Regions from separate parts of the Homo sapiens genome. Here all the other regions are linked to region 2. Evidence: promoter capture Hi-C in 16 types of primary human blood cells and fetal thymus (Javierre and others, 2016). All regions are on one chromosome and are shown on one strand. Each heading gives the region's core, a stretch centred on a gene start or on the middle of the fragment in contact. The rest is flanking DNA. Distances are from core to core; before and after follow the strand shown. Region 1 overlaps FGF1 (fibroblast growth factor 1). Region 2 holds the start of SPRY4 (sprouty RTK signaling antagonist 4). Region 3 overlaps FGF1 (fibroblast growth factor 1).

Evidence for each region. The method cuts DNA at HindIII sites, captures the fragments that hold promoters and counts their contacts. A CHiCAGO score of 5 or more calls a contact.
Region 1: a contact is called between a fragment that was not itself captured here and the fragment with the promoter of SPRY4 in region 2, in 1 of 17 cell types (naive B cells). The highest score is 5.1, in naive B cells.
Region 3: a fragment that was not itself captured here is called in contact with the fragment with the promoter of SPRY4 in region 2 in 2 of 17 cell types (endothelial precursors and activated CD4 T cells); the score reaches 6.8 in endothelial precursors.

The regions. Positions count from the first base shown.
Region 1 is chr5:142,611,388-142,615,618 of GRCh38, reverse strand. It overlaps FGF1 (fibroblast growth factor 1), which reads left to right. Exons shown (of 4, transcript NM_000800.5): 2 at 1,458-1,660. The coding sequence starts at 1,492. Among named protein-coding and RNA genes, the nearest start is that of FGF1, 73 kb to the left of the region's middle. The HindIII fragment of the contact is 2,233 bases long and covers 896-3,128 here.
Region 2 is chr5:142,323,535-142,327,800 of GRCh38, reverse strand. It overlaps SPRY4 (sprouty RTK signaling antagonist 4), which reads left to right and starts at 2,780. Exons shown (of 2, transcript NM_001127496.3): 1 at 2,780-2,957. SPRY4-AS1 (SPRY4 antisense RNA 1) reads right to left here and starts at 2,508. Exons shown (of 4, transcript NR_120664.1): 1 at 2,431-2,508. RefSeq lists enhancers at 3,314-3,373, 2,855-3,817, 3,818-4,266. The HindIII fragment of the contact is 6,861 bases long and covers 1-4,266 here.
Region 3 is chr5:142,595,776-142,599,972 of GRCh38, reverse strand. The region is part of intron 3 of FGF1 (fibroblast growth factor 1); the gene reads left to right. Among named protein-coding and RNA genes, the nearest start is that of FGF1, 88 kb to the left of the region's middle. The HindIII fragment of the contact is 5,090 bases long and covers 45-4,197 here.

The DNA.
Region 1 (4,231 bases), core at 763-3,262, 290 kb before region 2:
AATGATGAGGGTGATGATTTTTATTCTAAGACCACTTGATAATCAATATGTATTGATGATCACATTCACTACTCACACTTACAAAGTACAGCTCCCAGGCCGGGCGCGGTGGCTTACGCCTGTAATCCCAGCACTTTGGGAGGCCGAGGCAGGCGGATCACGAGGTCATGAGTTCAAGACCAGCCTGGCCAACATGGTGAAACCCCATCTCTACTAAAAATATAAAAATTAGCCTGGTGTGGTGGCGCATTCCTGTAATCTCAGCTACTTGGGAGGCTAAGGCAGGAGAATTGCTTGAACTGGGACCCGGGAGGCCAAGGTTGCAGTGAGCTGAGATCGTGCTACTGCACTCCATCCTGGGCTACAGAGACTCCGTCTCAGGAGAAAAAAAAAAAAGTGCAGTTCACACGTTAGTTTCCTGGTCTCTTTTTGGCCTCTTTCTTTTCAGTTTTTAGAGTCACCAGCACTTCCTTCTCCTAAATGGTGGGGCAAGTATATGTTTTAACCAATTCTAATGCTCATTGGTTTTGTTTTTTAATCCTTTGAGGTGTAAGTGATGCATTTTCACATTAATAATATAAGTTTGTATGTAGTGGCTACATATAATGTTAAAGGTATATTATATATAATATGGTGGTTTCTGTGTTCTATCTCACATTAGAAAATAGCTAGGATGAAAACAGCCTGCGTGCAAGGGACAGACCCACCTTCTCTGTGCCACATGAAGCTATGTGGAAAGCTGCAGAATGGGCAGGAACCAGGCATAGCCTTCATAATGATCTGTCTCATAACATTTCCTTTGATATGGTATTTGCCCTTTAAAAACCCCACTTACTCCCACTCTGTGCCTTTTTCCCTGGTTCCAGTTCTGTTTCCCCCAGCAAATCCAGAAGCTTCCCTTAACATACTAACCCTTTACTTTCCCTGTTGTGTCCCTGAAAGGCCTCCTGTGCCTTTGGCTGCAGGTCCCGAACGTCCAGGCCATCTGTGCTATCTGCTTCGCGGTACCTCACCAACGCAACGTGAGGGTGGAGGGCAGAACCTTGGTCCTGGCCTCTCAGCTTTTGTGGGTTTCAGCCAGACCCTAGGTGTTATTTTAGTGCAACTTTGGTGTTTAATTTGAGGATGTGTGTGGACCAGAAGGAGGGACCAAAACATGATTCTTTTCCCCATGGTCAGATGATTAAATTTGAAGTTCTAAAAAATGCAGTTTGGTCCAAAGCTGTGTCCAATTGGGAAGAGAGAAAAATGCCCTGGAAACCCCTCCCAGGCCTGGGACCATCCTTCCTTAACCACCAGCCACCTCACAGGCCCGCGGACTGCGGGCATCACCTGGGCAGGCTGTGCTTACTCACTACCCGGGAACCCTGTGCCCTGGAGCTGTCCTTCCTCTCTTCAAAGTGCATTTTGTGCCTTTGCTGGAAGAACCGACTACAGGTTTGTTCAATTTCTTACAGTCTTGAAAGCGCCACAAGCAGCAGCTGCTGAGCCATGGCTGAAGGGGAAATCACCACCTTCACAGCCCTGACCGAGAAGTTTAATCTGCCTCCAGGGAATTACAAGAAGCCCAAACTCCTCTACTGTAGCAACGGGGGCCACTTCCTGAGGATCCTTCCGGATGGCACAGTGGATGGGACAAGGGACAGGAGCGACCAGCACAGTAAGCCCATCTCTATGGCACCCCCCTTCCCTTTCTGACATCTTCTGTAGTCAAGGTGGGAGGAAGGTGCACATTTAAGTACAGGTACTTGCTTCTCCAAGGTTCTATTCAGGCATGACACATTCAGAGGTGGAGTCACATAAATGCGTAAAATGTCTGGGTTTAGAAAATAGGGACTTGTGGGGGCCACCACTTACCCAAACGTGTCCTATTTCAAGTTTTTTAAAGCACTCTCTGCTGACCCAACAGAACGGGCTGCCGGTGCTCAATTGCTGTATGTTTTCCCAGGTTTCTGTAACTAGTGAAAGATCTGGCCCCGAAGGCTAGTCAGGGGCCTGCACGCTTCATGATGGGATGAACCAGACAGGCATGGTGGTAAATCCTGCACAGAGATGTGGGCTCCGTTTCAAGTCAACTGACTCTCCTGGTTATGTTTCCACTGGGCTTGATTTGTGAAATCCCAGTTCATAATCGTAGTCTTACACATCATAAATTATGCAGCTTTCCCTCTGCGTATCACGCAGATGTGGCTGTGGTAACCAGCAGTGGTAAAGTCATTCTCCAGACCTTATAGAAACTGGAGAGTAGGAGCGACTAGCGCCAAATGCTGAATATCTCTTCCAGGACTTCCTGGCAGCCCGGTTCTCAGAGGTGTTGACAAATGAAGGTATGACTCTAGAGAAAAGAATCTTCTTGACTATCTAAGTATAAAAAAATCTCTTCCTTCTGCTTTGGTACTTCTGGCATTGGTGTGTATGTTTGATATTAGGTGTCCAGGTCCTATCGTGATGTTATCTGAGATTCCCTGAGTCCCACTGCAGCATCAGAGGTTACAAAGAAGCCTAAAGTCAGATCCAGTCCCTGCTTAGAGGGTCAGCAATCTCAAGAGTCAAACTTGCCACAAATCAAGAGAAGGAAAATCAGGAGACATAGAAGAAGACAGGCAGGAAGGAAGTTTCTGTAGGACTGGCTTCAAAATGCAATGCAAAACACTCACTTTGACATGATGGTTTATACATCAGGTGGTCTTAATTATTCATGGACCATGCACCAGAGGTTGCAGGCTCTAAGAACAAATGACCACTTCGCTGGTGCTCACGCTGTACCCTCAGATGCACAGGTAATGGGGATGGATGCTGGCGTTTACACGAGGTGACGTTGTTCCTTCCTCCCCACCCACTGCACAGACCCTGGAGATGAGGAGCAGGAAGGCTGAGGCTGGGGCTTGCAGCTGCAGAATTAGCTCTTTTGGGCTTTGTTTTGATGGCTTATCTTCAAATGGGCTTGCTGAATGTCTTATACTCAGTGAAAAACAGGTGTCAGAATGAGGCAAAAAAAAAAGACTCTAGTTTGTTAAATAGCATACATAAGCAATATTCACTGCAAATTAGCAAACTTAGATTGTAGTCCATTGTGTCAGGCATGATACACAACTCACGTGATCTGCCCCACACAACACGAACAAGCTTTAATTCCTCTGGGTTTTAAGTGTTCCTAATACGTCTTAACCAATTTTCTGAAAAAGTAGGGAATGCTCTCCGGTCCTCAGAACCCAAGAGGAAAGACAAACTTCATGATATGTTCCTTGGGGTTAAGCTAGCTCTTCTGGAAACCTTGACTTCTGGAGTAAAAAAAGGCTCCAATACTGGAATTTCTGTAGCAATGGAAAATGGCTTAACTGTTGCCATTCCATCATTAGCACAACAGACTGCACTCTGGGTGTGTAACACTGGCACAACTTCTGGAGTCCACAGTGGATTTGGCCGCCTGACTTAAGATGTCAGGAGCCCCTAGAAAGCAGCACAACGTAGCCCTGGGAGTGCAGGTGAGGATTTCTGCATTCAAGGAATGCCAGATTATTTTCCAAGTGAACTTGGGCAACTGCACCTTTCACCCTCACTTTTCTCATTTGTACAAAAAGAATACTAATATTCCTTGCCTCACAGGTTTCTTGGGAGGGTTAAATGAGATAATATAGTGAGAGTTCTTGGCACAGTGGCTGGCACAGAGGAACAGCACAGCACGTGTTGGTTCATATTGCAGTTATCATCATCAAGCTTTCCATATAATCAGCCTAGCATATGGTAACACAGGGTCGTATTGAAGGACCTTCCAGACTCCTCTTTTTAACAGTACTGCCACCCAGGAAAGTCAAGGGGCTAGATGCAGGCTTAGATTCAGCATCTCTCTGCCAACACTCGGAGTTGTTGTGTGGGCCTATTATTTGCTTACTCTGGAACTAAGAACAAGGACCAAGAGGACAGAGATCAGAGTAAGTGGGGTGGGTGGCCAGAAGCCCATCCGTGTACCTGTCAGTACTGGAACTGGATATTCCACTGAAGAGTCAGCAGGCTCGAGTTCAAGCCTACTCTGCCCCTTTCTACCTGGAGCAGCCCTGGACAATTAACGTTCTTGCCATTATGCATTCTTTCTGTTTGCAAACTCTGCGAAAGAAGCTTCAAGCCCCCCAGCCCTGGGACGCTTCCAGTCCTTTCCTGACTAGAAATTGAAGTGTCTCTAGTGTTCCCAGATAATTTTCAGGAAAATCATTTAGTCTCGCTGAGACTCAGT
Region 2 (4,266 bases), core at 1,531-4,030:
CTTTTCCCACACACGGCCTCCACCCATGCTCCCTCTGCCTGAGATGTTTCTCCAGTCCTCCCTCAGATTCACTTCTCAGTCTTTGGGTCTCAACTCACAACTAGAAGCCGCCCTCTCAGAGACATTCCCTGATGACCAAATCAGAATCAGCTCCTTCCACCATCCCCCACCTCCCCGGCAAGCAACATACCCCAGAGAAAGCTCATTTCCCTCCTAGCACTTAGAACCTCATGTTGCAGCCTGTCTGTCTGTCTTTTCAAAAGACTGTGAGCTTCACAAGGGCAGGGAGGGCTGTCTGTCCCTCACCACTGAGTCTCCAGAGTCAGGGCAGGCCCCACTACAGAATCGATCAATGAATGAGTGAATGAGTGAATGAATGAATGAATGAATGAATGAATTTTTCATAACTGCTGCTCCAAACCATTCCTCAGCTTAGGTTCCAAGCACAACCAGAATATGACCTCCAGAGCCCTTCTAGACGCTCTGAATCTCGCTGTACTTAAGCATCAGAGGCCCCTCCCAGCTCAAGACTGGGAGCTCCTCCTTCTCCCCACCACAGGCTGGGGTCTCCTCGCATTCTCTTTCAGGGAAGCTGAGAAAGACTATGAAATGTAATCCTGTCTGTCTCCTGAGTTTCTCTAATAAAGAAAACAGGATAGCAACCCCCCTCCCCGCGGCTCCTCCAATCCTCCTTTTCTGCCATAGATTTAAGATTTATTTATTCCCATCCTTCTGACTGTTTCAGCAAGGGCCATGGGTGAGCACCAGCTGGAAAATTACTGCTTCAACTTTCATTGTTTAAAATGCTTAAATGACATGCGAGAAACAGGTTTTTAGGTCTGTGATGCTGAGAAGGGTTGGTAGCAAAGTAAAGCCAGGTTGCAAAGACCTAGAAAATAAGTGCTACAATTTACCAGCTCTTCCATATACCCGGTGCAGGACCCTTGGCCTCAGTTTCTACAGCTGACAGAGAGGGCGATACTGAACTTCAACAGCCTTAAAAGGAAGTCCTGGACAACTGTACCCATTTTTCTGGCGAAGAGTTCTCTTGGTCTTAGAGAAAGGTCTCGCCCCTGAAAGGAAGGCTGAGGTTCCCTAGGGGAGAGTCTGCTCTGCCCTCAGGAGCTGGGTAAGTACACGGAGGGGTGAGCCGAATGGTGAGAAGGCATTTTAGGCTAGGACTCGGTGACCTTGGGCTGCCTGCCTCTAGAGTCCCAGCCCCAGCCCTAGGCCAGACCTCAGCCCTGGGCTGGGAGCCTTTCATTGGTTCCTCTGACAACAGCCAAGCACAATCCTATAGTGGCGTAGGAAGAAAAAGACTGCCACACAATCTCCCCGTGCGGCCAGAACAGCGGCAAGACAGACCTTACAAGGGACTCAGGGCCAAGCCCTGGCCCAGACTCTGCTCTTATCCACGCATCAAAGCCACCCCCCGCCCCGGACTTCCCGGAGGCTACAGGCTCCTCCGTTCCAGGGAGGAGCAGGGCCTGCTGCGAGGGCTCCCCGCCTTCCTGGAGTCAGGCCTAATGGCGGGGGCTTTTCTTTTCACCGGCTTGAGCTGATCCTCACCCCCGCCCCCCAACGCCACCATCATTAACAGCGAAGAAAGGATCCCCAGCCATTTCCATTTCCTCTGCGGCTCAAGAGCCCCGTTGTTATTTAATCCTGAGGCCACCCCGGCAGCATCCTCGGCGCAGCCGGCTCCACCCATCCACCTGGCCAGTTCTCGGCCGCTCCCACTTCCCCGGAGGGGAGGCCGGTGAGAGGTGGGGGATATTGGGGAAAGGCGCCTACAACAGCGAAGGGCCGTGGGCCTTCGGTGGACCGAGGCTCCTCAGGCCAGCGTCCTGTGAGGGCTGGGAAACCGACTGGGACAGAGAAAGGACACCTAGCTAGGGCGACAGAGAGCGGGCAGACGCCCGGGCACTGCGGACATTGCACTGGGGCGGGGGGCGGGGGGAACGCTGGGAGGCGAGGGCCAGGCTTCCTCTGGCTGAGTTGCCAGAATCGCCCCGGGGGGTACTGGAGCCGGAAGAGGCCTGGGCCCAGTCACTGTCTACACCCAAGAAATGGGGGGAGGGGCGGCCAGCACTCACGAGAGATTCAGCCTCAGGAAAAAGAACCAGATTCACTCACCAATCCTCACCCCACCCTTTGATATGAATGATGGACATTTTCCTAATTTTTGGTAAACGCAGCTTCAAGACCCCTCCCGCCTGGCGTCTCTGGTCTAGAGCAAGAGAAGGCCCCCAGTAGGGGTCCTCCCGCCCCCCCTTTTGACTGCCTGCGGGGGGCAGAGATCCCCAGATCTAGGTGTGCCCTCCACCACCCTGCTCTCAACCCGGGATCCGGAGGCCGCAGCGTCCCCCACCCCCCAGCGACACTGACGGTTCCTGCCCAGGCCCGCAGTGGCGTGAAGGTGGCCTTTACCTCCTCTCGCAGGCTGGGAGGGGGTGCAGCCCGCGCAGCTGGCCCAGCTGCAGCAGTCGCCGCCGCCCTCCATTCATTAAAAAAAAAAAAAAAAAGGCAACAACAGCCTCCACTGGAACCTCCACCCCTCTTTGTAAAAGAACGACGGCTCCTGGTGGAGCTTGAGCCAGTCCCAGCAATCACGGGTTAAGATCTTTTCCCGCCCCCCATTCATAAAAAAAGGAGCGGAGCGCATGCGCGCTCAGGGTCTGTTGTGCCCACCCATTCATAGAATCGCGAACGGCACGCGTGCGCACTGGCGCTCCCTTCCCTCCCATTCATAAAAAAGCCATTTTCCCAGGCAGTGGTTGCAACATCGCCGCGGAGGTAGCGAGCTGAGCTGACAGCGCGGAGCTGGCGCTGTGGAGCGCAGGGAGCCTTGCCGGTTCCTCCGACCGGCGTCTGCGAGTACAGCGGCGGCTAACCTGCCCCGGCTTCAGGATTTACACAGACGTGGGGCGATGCTTGTGACCCTGCAGCTCCTCAAAGTAAGTCCATGGCTGGTTTGGAGATCTGAAACTGCCCCTCTCTGAGCCGCGACGCGACTCCCCCCTTGGGCTGGGGCAAATGGTGCGCTATTTCTAGGCGCGCCTCAGTGTTCCTTCCCTCAGCCTGCGCCTCCTTGAGTCGCTGCGGTGCGCCGCAGCTCCCTGACGCCCTCGGCCCGGCCGGCACGGCGCCGGGGGTGTTCACAGCCTGGCACCGCCGTTTCCGACCCCTGGGCATTGCCAAGCCCGGCTTCCCCGCCCTCTGAGACTCGGGAAGCCCCGTGCGTGTCCCGGGAGTTTGCCTCTGGCCTGGCCTCTTTCCTTCTCCTGCCACCATCCGCCTCGAACGCTGGAACGGGCGTCTCTGGGCTTGGTCAGGAGCCACCGTTTGGGTCGGGGGGCGCCCTCGCTCTGGGCGGCTCGCCCACCTCCCAGCTCGGTGCCCACGGTGCCAGCTTTGCCGTGTATCTCCCAGCCCGCCGTAGCGGCCTATGCTCGACGTAGATTTTTTCTTTCTCTTCGGAGCCGTGACGGACTGAATTCCCTCCCCTTCTGCCTCTCCCTCGATGGTCAGCGAGGGGCTGGCTCAGGACTGGGCATTCCTACTCCCTCTCCTTGGCGAGGCGGTTCCTCGCCGTCTGACCTTTGCTCCGCTGCCGCATTTTATGCTATGCAACTGCCTTGCAGTTGACTTTTTCTTGCCTGGCCTCTGTAAGGCCTGAGGCTCCTCGGCCACCCTGTACCTCCCTATCCTCGGGCACCGAGCTGTGCCAGGCCCCGGAGCCCCCAGGCCGCGCTAGGGCTGCGGTGGGGGTTGAAGGTGCGTTTACATAACACCAGGCGTGTGGGAGCTGGAGGAAGAGGTTGCGAATGTAGGAGAGATAAGGCTCCTGCTTTCCCTCCTTCCTTCTTGGTGGTACCAGGCTTGACATCACAGAGAAGAGGATAGAGACGGTATGTTCTGACAAATTCTGAATCGCCAAGACCCCGGGGACAGTGAGCTGGGTGAGGGCGGGTTTGGCTAGCCAGGGCAGCTAGAGCTTGGCTCCATCACTGGGTCCAGGGCTGTGCCCAGTTCCCCCTCCATGCAGACGATCAAAAAGCATTTAGACAGTAGCTGCTCTTGTGCAAGAAGACGGTTTCTCAATTCTCCTTGATTGGGGGCAGGGGGTTGTGGGCAGGAGAGGCAGGGGAGACAGAAAATGGTTGCGTGGCTTATAGGGCTGAAGGATGGGCAAGAGAGGCGAAATGGGCTGGAGGGGCTAGATGGTAGGCAGAGTAGGGAGCTGCTGGCTGCCTCTTTCACCAG
Region 3 (4,197 bases), core at 1,340-3,839, 270 kb before region 2:
AGCCCCTTTTATTCTGAAAGGATCACCTAAAAGGATAGAAAGCTTAATAACTTAATTCAACATTTATCAAATGTCTCCTGTGTCTAAGTGCCATGTTAGGTACTGAAAGGGTGTGAGGATGAATGAGCTGCAATGGAGAGGCATAGTCTAATTGTTTCTTCAGTAGCTAAAATCCTCCATGTTCCCTGCCCTTTCCCTATCATAGCTAGTGCTTTATACAGGTTTGACCATGTATAGATAGGTCTTTATGGGAAAGGAATAGAAATAGAGGCAATGTGATTTTGCCCCTATTGGTATCTCTGTGACAGGAGTTAACTGGAGAGACAGCTTAAACCAATGACTGCGGGTTTTGAAGTTATTTCTAGATTTTAATGTTCCCTCCTCTGTATCCTAACAGTTGATAAACTAAGGCTTGGCTGTAATTCCTAGCCCAATCCACACCCCTTTCCTCCCTTTTATGAAGATGTCTTCAAAAAGACAGTCAGTAGGGGGAATTTTAGTCTGGAGCTTCAACTTACATCGAATTGCCAAGTGACAGAGGGCACAGAAACCCTCTCTTGAAGTTGTCATCTCAGCCAAGGGTCCCAATGTGAACACAGCTTCGTTTCCTCTCACTGCCCACTAGGGATCAGGAGATTAAATCATCAGCGTAATAGGTAACCTCTAAAATGCTATGTGCTCAGTACAGATCACCTGGGACGGCTTTAAGGGGTTTGGCAGTAGGGGATTTTTTTAAGGTAGTTCTTCCAAGTGGTAGTAAAATCAATCCATCAGTCAATCGCTTAGTCTCAGACTCATGATTGAATCTCACGCCTCTGCCACTCTGGCAAGTCACTTACCCACTCTGAGCTTTGTCTAAAATGAGGACAGTCATGGATCATAACCGCCTCACACAGAGCGTACATGGGTTCAGTGGTGCAACACACAGAATGCGCCCATCAGAGTGGCTGGCACGTCACAGACCAGTGGTGGCTGTAAGACAAGTCATCAGCTTAGAAGCCCCTCACCCTCACTGTGTCTTAGGTTATGCCACAGTTTTATGGCTTTTCCCTCTTTAAATAAATTTTGACGTTTATTGTAACCTGCTTTCACTTATATAAAAATATTGAGGGAGAACTCCCAGAATCTAATTTCCGATAGGCTCCAGGCACCCCCTTCTCCCACCATAGCCGTGGCCATCACTACAATTCACCTGAAATATGATCTTAGTATATTACGCCTAAGAATGTTTGCATTTTCCCCATTGATAAAGAGAAGTTCTAAGATATCTCAAAGCTCTGCTTCATGCTCTTCATAAAATTTAGGCACTAATCCATCCTGATTCAAACTTGTGTGTGTGGAAAGGATATGTATATTTTTTTTAAGTTTGAAAGGCTATATATCAAAATACTGATATAGTTATCTCTGGGGGTGGAGAATGGGTGATTTTATAATATGTGAATAACTTCCTGTATTTTCCAATTTTTTTTTTACAGTAAGTATATGTCACCTATGTAATTTAGGGTGGGAGGGGAAACATGCCAAATATAAAAAAGAAGACAATTTAAACAATAGACATGAATCAATAGTTAAGCCACATGTCTTCAGCATTGTACCAAGTGCATAATGAGTGCTAACAAATCCTGGTGGAGGGACGGAGCACCGCTGATCTGGCCTGCTGACTCAGCCTGTGACTCAGCTATTTTGTGTGTGTCAACTCCTCCAGTATAATAGAGACATCAGGTGGGGAATGTGGCCATCCTCACCTTCGTCACAGAACACAGGCCTGATGCCCACTATGAGGTGTCAGGCATGAGTCCTCCCTACAAGGGAGTGGGCAACCCACATAGGTCCAAGCTGTCTACCTCCTTCTACCCCCAACAACATGCATCAAACACGAATGTCTGCACCAAGTTCCTCTAGAGGCAGCAGAGTCATCCAATAAAATATTATATTTATATCTCATCTTGTTCCAATATGATCTAAAGTGTCTCACCCTGTTGTCATTTCACTAGATTATGAATGAATAAGAAGCAGGATACTTCCTGTTACACAGTTCCTTACTAAGAAAGGCTGACTTTACTGACTGCTTTATATTATCTCAAGAATCAAATTAAATGCATTACTTAGCTGGTGAGCACCTATTATTTGCAAGGCTCTGTGTCTGGGGGATGGAGAGAAGACCAACAAGATTCCATCTCCTTCCTCACTAGGGTTTATAATCTAAAGAAACAAACATGCTCACACATAGAGAACAATGAACAATATAATTGGAAACCGCCAGACAGGGAATCACCAACCACTGTGGGTGAAGAGAGACTGCAGGGGTCACACGACTTGAAAAAGGCAAAGCAAAGTCAGATGTCTCAGTTCCAGCATAAGTGTTTTAATATACCTGTTTTAGACCCAAATGTAATAAATATATTCTAAGATCTTGACGAATAGAAAGTTCAAAAACTGAGTTCCCCTTCCACCAACAGATTGACTACAAGTAAGCAAAATAGTGGTTGCTGGATTTTTTTCAAGTAACTGCACTCTTTAATACGTTGTGGCTGATTTTCAACTTAATAAATGTACAGCTGCACTGGGTTCTACTGTACGGATATTCTTTTACCCACTTAACCAATCACCTTTCCATGGACATATAGGTTACTCCTAATCGCTTGCCCCTATAACCATTGGTTCAGAGACCATCCTCAAAAATACAGTTGTACACTTACTCAACCATCTCCTAGGGGTAGATTCCTAGAAGTGAAATTGCTGAGTCAAAGGTAATACATCTTGTAAATTTTGATACATATTGCTAAATTGTCTTCAGAAAGTTTCCACTAATTTTTCTCGCCAACTGTGCATGGCAGTGCCTAGTTCCCACATTCTAAGTCTTGCAAATGGTTTTTTATCTTTGCACAAATTTTTTTTTATCTTTGCACATAGGATAGCTAACATATGATAAATAATTTTTAATTTGCATTTTTCTCGTTAGCAGTATTGAATGTTTTCATAGGTTTGTTGTTCATTTTTAAAACATCAAATAAAACATGACATTTTGATGATATCATAAGTCTATATCCATATAGCCTTATCTAGTCTGTATGTACATAAAGAGATGTAAGGCAGGATGTTTATCAGTGATTAACAGTTGCCTATATCTGGGTGGTGGGTTTTGGGATAGTTTTTTCTTTTTACAAAGTAAAGGTATATTTTTAAAAGTACAATTCTTCTTATAAGTAGCATTTTTATTACTCTTTAGAGACAGGTTCTTGCTCTGTCACCCAGACTAGAGTGCAGTGGTACAATCATAGCTCACTACAGCCTCAAACTCCTGGGGTCGAGCAATCCTCCTACCTCAGCCTCCTAAGTAGCTAGGAGGACAGGCACACACCATGGCACCTAGCTAATTAAAAAAAAAAAATTGTAGAGAATGGGTCTTGCTATGTTGCCCAGACTGGCCTCAAATTCCTGGGCTCAAGCAATCCTCCTGCCTCAGCCTCCCAAAGTGTTGTAATTACAGGCACACACCATGGCACCTAGCTAATTAAAAAAAAAAAAATTGTAGAGAATGGGTCTTGCTATGTTGCCCAGACTGGCCTCAAATTCCTGGGCTCAAGCAATCCTCCTGCCTCAGCCTCCCAAAGTGTTGTGATTACAGGCACACACCATGGCACCTAGCTAATTAAAAAAAAAATTGTAGAGAATGGGTCTTGCTATGTTGCCCAGACTGGCCTCAAACTCCTGGGCTCAAGCAATCCTCCTGCCTCAGCCTCCCAAAGTGTTGTGATTACAGGCATGAGCCACTGTGCCTGACCACAAGTAGCATCTATTTATAAGATTCTTTTTATAAGTAGCAAAAAATAAAGCTATTTTCATTTTAAAAAATCTACATTCTAGGATATGTTTCATGCTTAGGATAAATTTTGCACAAGCATATCTTCATAACAATACTCAGGTAAAATCCTGACGTTAGTGAAAATCACCAGGATAAAAGGCATTTTAGCAGCTTTTTGTTTATTCTTTAAGTCTAGCCTTCAAGTTAAAACAACAGCAACAACAACAACCCACTACATCACAGTCTGGTTTTTACCTATTTGGAATGTTTTTCCATGGTCAGGCCTGTGTGCCAGGCCACTACAGAGATGAAAGATCCAGCCCTGCCCTCAAGGTACTTACAGTCGAGCAGAATGTCCCCAGTGGGAGATTCTAGAGTCCTGAGGACTCTTA